Regions from separate parts of the Homo sapiens genome. Here regions 2 and 3 are each linked to region 1. Evidence: promoter capture Hi-C in 16 types of primary human blood cells and fetal thymus (Javierre and others, 2016). All regions are on one chromosome and are shown on one strand. Each heading gives the region's core, a stretch centred on a gene start or on the middle of the fragment in contact. The rest is flanking DNA. Distances are from core to core; before and after follow the strand shown. Region 1 holds the start of PJA1 (praja ring finger ubiquitin ligase 1). Region 2 overlaps YIPF6 (Yip1 domain family member 6). Region 3 overlaps YIPF6 (Yip1 domain family member 6).

Region 1 (3,126 bases), core at 506-3,005:
TAGAGTGGAAAATACAGATCGCCGTGTGTGCACGAGTGCCTATGTGTCTGTCTATCAAGAGGAGAGGGACAGGTGGAAGGGGACCAGTAATCCTGCAACAGAGGGATGTTTACGTTTGTAGGGGGAAAGGGTATGAGTGTTAGAATGAGACCCATTCTGGATGTGGGTATGAAAATGACAGGCATGGGTGGGGTGGCTTTGGAGGAGAGGGGTGCGTGTATGTATGAGGAAAGGGAAGGTGTTTGTGTGTGTAGCTGTATGTGAGGCAGCTGAAACTACAGAAGGATGCCCATGTTTATGCGTATGTCACAGGCAGAGGAGTGTATGGTTGGCAATGGAGAGGAGTGTCTGAGAGTTTGTGTGTGTGTATGTTAGTCAAAATGGGAGGCAACAATGGAGAAATGTCAGTGTGAGCAAATGCAGCAGGCACAAATGGAAGCGGGGGTGGGGGGTGCGCAGCACTGGAGAGGGATGTGCTTGAGGTGGATGGAACAGAGGCAGGCAATCAAAGAATGATGCCTGCCTGTGTGGATATGGCAAGCAGGGAGGCAGGTTGTGTCCCCGTAGAAGGATTTATGTGAGTGCGAGTGTGTGCACCTCAGGGACCAGCAAAAGAGAGCTGTGTCTGACACACGTGGCAGACAGAGCAATAGAGGAGAGCATTTGAGAAGGGGGTATGAATGAGCACATGTGGCTACATATGTATGTCACTGGCCAGCGATAGAAGGATGTCCTTATGTGTGTATATGACAGGAAGGAAGAAGGAGGGCAGCCGGAGGGGGTGTGTGAATAGGCATGTGTTCGCGAGAGCACGCAGAGGCCGAGCAGGGAGGGGGCCGGTGCTAGAGGTGTGTATGTGGTAGGCGGATAGAGGAGGGGGAAGGCATGGGAGGGTGTGAGGGTGTGAGGGTGTGTGAGAGGGTGTGTGCTGCGTGTGCCTGCGCATGCGCGGGGGAGGGGAAGCACTGGAACCTTGAGGATGGAGGGGCAAGGAGGGGGCTGCAATGGAAGGCTTCTGTGCGGGGGCGCGTGCTCGCGACACACGGGGGGTGGGGGGTAGGGGGGACGCAATGTCATAAAAAGAGGTGGGAAAAGGCCATCAGCTCAAACGGGAGACCCCAACCGATGTGGCAGGGGAGAGGGAAAATGAAAGAAAAGGGCGTGCGTGGGTCTAGTTTTCCCTGAGAATAATTATTTTTTCCTTCCAATTTTTTCCCTGGGAACAGTATTTTTACCTAAAAATCTTAACCATTTACCATTTGGCAAAACAACAGCAAAATATGGGAAGAAAGGCCACGGAGTGCTCCGCAAAGGGGCCGAGGAGGGAAGAAGGAAGGAGAGGGGAGGAGAGGCAGGGAGAAGTGGGAGAGGGCCGCGACCACCACTGCCCTCCCAATAGCGATGAAAGCCACTCGAGTGGGGACCGCGCCACACCAAAGGGGTTCCGGCAGCGGAAGATGTGGCCCCAGAACAGGCCGATGGAGGACATGGGCCTCACTCTGCAGTCAGGTCCCGCGTCCGCCCCACCCCTTCCCGAGGGGCGAACCTGAAAAGCAGTTCCCAGGAACCCCCCAAAATCCTCGCCCCCGTGCCCGGCCACTCGCCCCGCGCCCGGCCACTCGCGCCACCGCCAGCGCCCGGATGAATCGAGGAAACAATCAGCCTTTCACTCACCAAGTCCAGAAAGCCACACGCTTTTCAGAGAAGCAGAGCTCTCGGATCTCCGACCGCCACGACCGCCAGAGCCGCTGCTCCCGGTCCCGAGCTCCTCCCCCGCCAGACAGCAGCGGGGCGGGCGGCGACTGCGGCGGCGGAAGTGATTGTGAAGTCAGCTGGAGCCCGCCTCCTTGATGTGGCGGGGGCGGCAGCTGCTCTCCACAAATCAGGGTGGGCCCGAAAGCATTATTTCATCTTAAATGATGAAATCGTCAAGGATACAGAAAAGGACAGCGAAAAATGTCACAAACACCCAGCTTTAACTAATGTTAAACATTTAGCTATATTGCCTTCTGGTTTTTTAATAAATAAAATAAAATCTGCAAATTCTTTCTGATTAAGTCCAATGTGAGAGTAATTACGTTACTACATCACATCCTATGTTACGTGTTATGGTTGTACCGAAAGTATTAAAACTGTGAAACCATATTTAGGGTTGCAGTAAGCTTAAATTTTTTTTAACCTGATGGTTAAAGCAAATTGAAGCTGTTTATGTTGAATTTGTTGCTGCTAATCACAAAACCAAGCTTCTCTGTCCAAGAGATCATAGGACACAACACAGGTTCATATTCTGTTATTGCATTGCAGTTAAAAATATTGTAGTTACGCCTTTTGGATTTATACCATTTTACTGAATTCTGAAGTCTTTAAATTGCGCTTTATAATGGAACTCTAGTATTTACAGCCAATGTAAACATTTCCCATGTTCACAACAGTAGCAAAGTTTTGTTCTTACTGGAAACAAAATGCATAATAGAACAAAAATCTTAGGGGTAACAACATAATAGAAATAAAATGTATAACTTTCAAACCATTAAAGTAATAATATGTGGAACAAAGAGAAAAACTCATTCTTAACAAAGGTCAAGAAATGTTGCTGGGGGGGTACAAAAAAAAGGATGCAAAAAGAAAACAAAAATGCAGGAATCCAAATATATCAGCATGCATTATGGGTTAACATCTCCTAATAAAAACCAAACTCTTATTTTGAGCATTTTGTTTTTAAAAGCTAAGTTATATTCTATTTATGTGAGTTTCACCTAAAGCAGAAATAGGAATAAAAAATATATGAGAGTAAAATACTAGCAGAAAAAAGGGAGAGAGGGAATGAGGGAAGGAAAGAAGCAAAAAAAAAAAAAAGGAAGGAAAGGAAGGAGGAAACAAACTCGTAACAATATCAATATCCTAAACATCGAGAACTCAAAGTAAAAAGAACTAAAGAGAACAAAACAGGTTGCTTTATTCACTGAGAAAGATATGACAAGCTGGTGGTGTGTGCCTGTAGTCCCAACTACTTAGGAGGCTGAAGCAGGAGGATTGTGTGAGCCCAGGAGGTTGAGGCTGAAGTGAGTGAAGATCACGCCACTGCACTCCAGCCTGGACAACCAAGCAAGATGCCATCTCAAAATG
Region 2 (3,206 bases), core at 446-2,945, 650 kb before region 1:
GCTGGCCAACATGGTGAAACCCCGTCTCTACTAAAAACACAAAAATTAGCCAAGTATGATAGCGGGTGCCTGTAATCCCAGCTACTCGGGAGGCTGAGGCAGGAGAATTGCTTGAACCCAGGAGGCAGAGGATGCTATGAGCTGAGATTGCGCCATTGCACTCCAGCCTGGGCAACAAAAGCCAAACTCCATCTCAAAAAAAAAAAAAAAAATCAATAGCCCTAGGTTCTGGTCCCACCTCCACATATAAAGCTAGGCAAGTCATTTCCTTCTCAGCTTCATTTTTTGTATTTGTGAACTGAGCATGATTATACTTGCCTTGTCTAATGCAGTCTCTGACTGGTAAAGTGCCTTGGCTATAGTCTTTTTTTCTTAGAATATGGGGTAGGGAACCTAGGTCTGCTGATTGTTTGTCCATTGGTCTTTAATTATAGCGTGCCAGCATGTGTCTTAGTAGATGGGGAGAAGGAAAGGGTGATTTGTGGGATATGAAATAAGCGAAACTGGAAGTCTATGTAAAGAAGTGCATTCAGGATTAGGGGACAGGGAGGGCAGGTGGTGGGAGAGGAGAGGTAGGAAGGCTTGGCCAGCCAAAGAGAGCCTTGATGTCTGAATTCTAGGAGGGAGAGAGGTAGATATTAGAATAAAGACAGAAAATATTACCTTCGCTTCTGTCTTTTCTTGTCTTGTAGGGGATTTGTGGGGCCCTTTGATCCTTTGTGTGACACTCGCATTGTAAGTACTTGCATTTTCTTTCTTTGTCATTTGAGCTAGACTAGACTTTTTTGTGGATTTCCAAAATTGTGGGGGATTTTGATTGAATATTTCATTTAGGACTTATATGACATGTTGTACATGTTATACTCCTTAGGTATTTAAGCCTCTAAAGTCACTTTCCAAATCAATTAAAATATGATGAAATTAGGCTCACCTTCCTTAACCAATGACATTTTAGTCTGTTTTAGCCATGTCTATTCAACAAACATTTATTTACTTATTTACTCTCCTGTTCCTCCCTATTATTAAACTAAGTGAATTAAGGTTTAAGCACCCTTTGTTTGCAAACATAATTCTCTGTAATCTTACTAAAAATATGAATGAGAATGAGAATAAATTAGGAGAGTTAAAAGCAAGATCATGTTTCAGAGTGTTGTACTTTTCCATACACATTGTAGGTAAAGGAAGAGGACGGGGAAGGAGAAGAAGGTTACACTAGAGAGATGAATATAACCATTGATAGAGCGGGAAAAAATACTGCCCTGGAATTCAGTTCTGAGTTCGCATTCTGACTCTGCTGTCAGCTAGCTATGTGACTTTGGGCTACTAATAACCAATGTTTGTATAATTTTTCCCAGTTTGCAGAAAACTTTAAAATACTTTCTCTTATTTTAACCTCATTGCAATAATTAAAATTATTTTATTTTTCTTTTTTTTTTTGACAAACAAGCTCAGGTTCAAAAAGGTTGAGGATTTAACCAAGATCACATAATCAGTGGTAGACCTGAGATTCAACCTCAGGTTTCCTCACTACCTATTTTGTACCTCTAGGGTTCATTACACATCTCTTCCCACCTGGTCACTCTGGGTCGCCTCTTCCATATCTGTAAAGGGAGTGGTTGAGGGTCCTTTCCAGGCTTAACCCTTTATGGGTCTAAATTCACTAAGTTTCTTGCTGACCTCTCTAATTTTTTAAATTTAAATTGAGCATATATTAATTTAGGTAATAATGTAGAGTACTATTTCTTATGCTTTTAGTAACCATGTTAAGGGATGCAGCCTAATGCCTTGATGGAGGGGTTTATATTAGATGTCCCGAGCATATATATTTTTTTTACTTTTGAAAGTTTAACCTTATAGATTATGTAGTTTAACCCCACTTAGTTGCAGAGAAAACTGGAGTCCCAGGACATCAAGTGACATATCTAGTGACAGAATTAGGATCAGTATCTGGGTCTCTTGCCTTCCAGGCTAGTTAATATTCTTTCCATCATACCATGCTGAAGCAACAGGGATTCCAGACAACAAGTGATGAGTGCTGGCCATTCTTTGCATCTGGTTGTCACGACTTGGAATGGAATATGCATATCATAGAATACAAAAGCCTGTGCATACTGCCAAGTAGCATAGCAGGGCAAGAAAGACTTACAGTGTGACTTCTCTATACTGTTTAATAAGAAGAGGTTGTGAGCTTACAGTTATTATTTTTCTTGGTAATAACACCAAGTCCAAATATTCAAAACAGTTTATATCTGTAAAATTCTTAGACAAAGAAAGGATATTTAAGTGGTTGTTCAACTACTCAATTCCAAAGCAAAACCCTTTAGTAATAATCTGTATGTTTTGATTTTTTAAAAATCAACAACTAAAAAGGTTTATAGACTGTTTCCATTTTTATTTATTATTTTTATTTTGTTTTGAGGCAGTCTCACTCAGTTACCCAGGCTGAGTTGGTGGTGTGATTACAGCTCACTGCAGCCTCAACCTCCCAGGCTCAAGCGATTCTCCCAACTCAGCCTTTCTAGTAGCTAGGACTATAGGCGTGTACCACCATGGCCAACTAATTTTTTATTTTTTGTAGAGACGGGGGTTTCGTCATGTTGCCCAGGCTGGTATCGAACTCCTGGCCTCAAGCGATCTGCCTGTCGTGGCCTCCCAAAGTGCTGAGATTACAGGCTAAGCCACCATACCTGGCCTATTTCCATTTTTAAATATCTCAACTGAAATCTTAACCCAAGAACTACAAATTCTGATGTGTCTAAAGGCTAGAATAGTAACCTAAATGCATGTAGTAGTGATATGGTGACTGTAAGCCCCTTGTACTTATGTCAGTTACACTTGATTGTTGCAGTGTTGGAATGCAGGCTCAATGTTAGAAAGTCTAACAGTTTTTTCAAGAAAATCTAGAAATTCATATTCTTATGTGAAATAAAATAGTGTCAACTTAAATTCAAAATCATCTTAAATATTATATAAGCCCAAGGCCTCATTATATATGAGCCACATTTGACCCTTCAGTTTATAACCTCTGCTTAAAAAAAAGGTCTTCAATAATTCATTTAAACATTTCAACAAGGTCAAATGGAGCACCCCTTGTAGTCCTGAGGCATTTGGAATTTGCAGTAAGGGAGCCTTGCCAAATGCTTGTGTCATTTTCCTTTTAGCACAACCTACATATTACAGATCTTCAGGTGAGGTATGGCACAGCA
Region 3 (2,852 bases), core at 307-2,806, 660 kb before region 1:
GGTAAGCCTACTGAGTTAGGGAGGCAGTATGGAACAGTGGTGGTTTGGAATGTGTACTCTGGAGTCAGCTTGCTTAGGTTTGATTCTAAGCACTGTCACTTAACTAGTGGGATATTGGGGAAATTACCAAACCCCTCCTTGCCTCAGTTTCCCCATCTGTAAAATAGAGATATAACAATACTTAGTTCATAGGGTTATTAGGTGGAATGAGTTAACACATTGGATAAATTAACACACTTAATAGAATGCCTGGCATATAATAATGCAATGTGTTATTTCTTATTATTGGCTACTAACCTGGGAGGCTTAATGGGCTACAAAGAGCCAGTGGAAATTTTTGAGGAGGGAAGAATTTGAAATCATGAATTGGACAACATAATAGAGGGTAAGTTACAGTGGGGGAATATCTGGAATCTAGAGGGCCAGTGAAGCTGTTACAGTAGTTCTGAGAAGAAATGATAAGGATCTGGACAACAGCAGTGGCAGGAGACAAGAGGATTTGAGACAAGGCAGAATCCACGAGGGTTTGTAGCGTGTGAAGGAGGATTTGTCTTAGATCAGTATTTTCCAAACTTTAGTGTGCTAGCAGTCATCTGGGGAATCTTGTTAATTTGCAGGTTCTGATTCAGTTGGTCTGGGATAGGGCCCGAGATTTTGCATTTCTTACAGACTCCCTGGAGATGCTGCTGCTGCTGCTCCCAGTACCACATTTTGAAGAGCATGGCTATAGACACCCAAGAGTATAGTGACACTCTGAACAAAAATAGATAATATATAAGGAGGGTTAGCTGGATGAGGGCCTTAAAAGTTGACTAATTCAGTTTGGGACATGTTTAGTTTGAGATACTGGCAGGCCATTCAATAGATATCCAACAGGCAGTTGGACTTTAAAACATGCACTTCAGGGCGCAGAAGAGGTCTTGCCTAGAGTTGTTGATTTAGGAGTCATCTGCACAGGGTTAAAAAGACAGAATCTTGGGTAATGCCTGTATTTAGGGGGCAGGAAGAAGAGATAGGCTGTAATAATGGCTGCAGTCTGGGGTCTTTTTTTTTTTTTTGAGCCGGAGTTTTGCTCTTGTTGCCCAGGGTTGGAGTGCAATGGTGCCACCTCGGCTCACTGCAACCTCTGCCTCCCAGGTTCAAGTGATTCTCCTGCCTCAGCCTCCCCAAGTAGCTGGGATCACAGGCATGCACCACCATGTGCAGCAAATTTTTGTATTTTTAGTAGAGACAGGGTTTCACAGTGTTGGCCAGGCTGGTCTTGAACTATAGTCTGGGATCTTTGGAAGATCTCAGGCTATGAGGAAGCTGGCCCCAGGTGAAGGGGCTGGCTGGAGACCATGCCACTGGCTACCCCGTCATCCACTCCTGGGAGCCAGGCCTCTTTGAGCTGATTCCTGCTTCATGCTTCCCCGTGTTGATTCCTTTTTCCAGGATTTTGGTCAATAGTATAACCCATTTGCTCCCAGCTATTTTTTTTAGGGTTGCAGTCCCTGCTTTTATTGTGTGTTTTTTGGCCCTGCCTCTACCTGTTCCCCTTACTGGCCCAAGCCAGGCAGAGCAATGTTCATGTGTGTTTCTGTGAGCACATCTATATATGTGCAAGAGCCTGCCTGCTGATGGGAAAGGGGAGGGACATGGATCCAAGTCGCCTTTCCCGCTGAGGGCTAGACAGAGAGCAGGGTCCATTAGCTGAGGTCCTGGAAGTCCTGTCTTTTATACATGGAGCTGGAGGGCCATAGTTCCTGACTCAGCTCATGGAACACTGTTGCTGATTCTTGAAGAGACAAAGGGGAGAGAGTAGGGGATCACATGGGACTTCAGTGACTACAGAGACTTCTGATACCAACTACCTGGAGTTAGGCCAAACTGCACAGGTTAAAAGCACAGTCCTCTACAAGACTGCTCTTCAGACACCAGCCACAATTTTGGGGGTTCCCAGGACCATCCTCACTTCAGAGCAAGTAGCAACAAATTCACGGGTTCCCACGTTCCGCTCAGGTTTATTTCTTTTTTGGCACAATCTCAGCTCACTGCAGCCTCTGCCTTAGCCTCCTGAGTATCTGGGACTACAGGTACATGCCACCATGCCCGGCTAACTTTTGTATTTTGGGTAGAGACGGGGTTTCACCCTGTTGGCCAGGCTGGTCTCGAACTCCTGACCTCAAGTTATCCGCCCATCTTGGCCTCCCAAATTGCTGGGATTACAGGCGTGAGCCACGGCACCTGGCCCTCCCCTCAGGTTTCATAATTCACTAGAATGACTCATAGGACTCAGAACAGCACTCTACTTAAAATTACAGTTTTATTATAGCAAAGGGATACAAATCCAAATGTGCAAAAGAGAGAGATACACAGGGCGAGGTCTGACAGGGTCCCAAACACAAAGATTCCTTGTCTTGTCCCTGTGGATTCAAGACATGTTACCCTCCTGGTTTGCTGGTATGTGACAATATGCAGAGTATTGCCAATCAGGGAAGTTCACTCATGTGTCTATAGTTTTTATTGGGGTTTCATTATGATTAATTGGACCATTGCTCACATAATGGAACTCAATCTCCAGGGTCCCACCACTCCCGAAAGTTTGGGCTTATATGTTGTGACTTAAAGCCCCAAACCTCTAGTCATATGTGCGGTGTTTCTGACGTGGTTAGCCCCCATCCTGAGTCATCACCAGAGTACAAACTACGTAAGGGCCTACTGTGACTCACCTGTAAGCATAAACTACCAGAGCCCCTGTGAATATCAAAAATACTCCTCTGTCATTCAGGAAATTCTAAGTTTAGAGGCTAACTCTCAAGTACAGGGGACAAAGGCCAGCTAAATTCTTTATTATACAGTAGTGACAGAAC

The links. Contacts are between HindIII fragments. The CHiCAGO score rates a contact against its expected background, and 5 or more counts as called.
Region 2: a fragment that was not itself captured here is called in contact with the fragment with the promoter of PJA1 in region 1 in 1 of 17 cell types (non-activated CD4 T cells); the score reaches 7.0 in non-activated CD4 T cells.
Region 3: a contact is called between a fragment that was not itself captured here and the fragment with the promoter of PJA1 in region 1, in 9 of 17 cell types (total CD8 T cells, naive CD8 T cells, total B cells and 6 more). The highest score is 15.4, in total CD8 T cells.

The regions. Positions count from the first base shown.
Region 1 is chrX:69,163,698-69,166,823 of GRCh38, forward strand. PJA1 (praja ring finger ubiquitin ligase 1) reads right to left here and starts at 1,756. Exons shown (of 2, transcript NM_001032396.4): 1 at 1,675-1,756. The HindIII fragment of the contact is 4,972 bases long and covers 1-2,160 here.
Region 2 is chrX:68,518,078-68,521,283 of GRCh38, forward strand. YIPF6 (Yip1 domain family member 6) reads left to right here. Exons shown (of 7, transcript NM_173834.4): 4 at 693-735. Among named protein-coding and RNA genes, the nearest start is that of YIPF6, 21 kb to the left of the region's middle. The HindIII fragment of the contact is 4,499 bases long and covers 1-3,206 here.
Region 3 is chrX:68,501,787-68,504,638 of GRCh38, forward strand. All of the region lies in intron 1 of YIPF6 (Yip1 domain family member 6), which reads left to right. Among named protein-coding and RNA genes, the nearest start is that of YIPF6, 4.2 kb to the left of the region's middle. The HindIII fragment of the contact is 4,652 bases long and covers 1-2,852 here.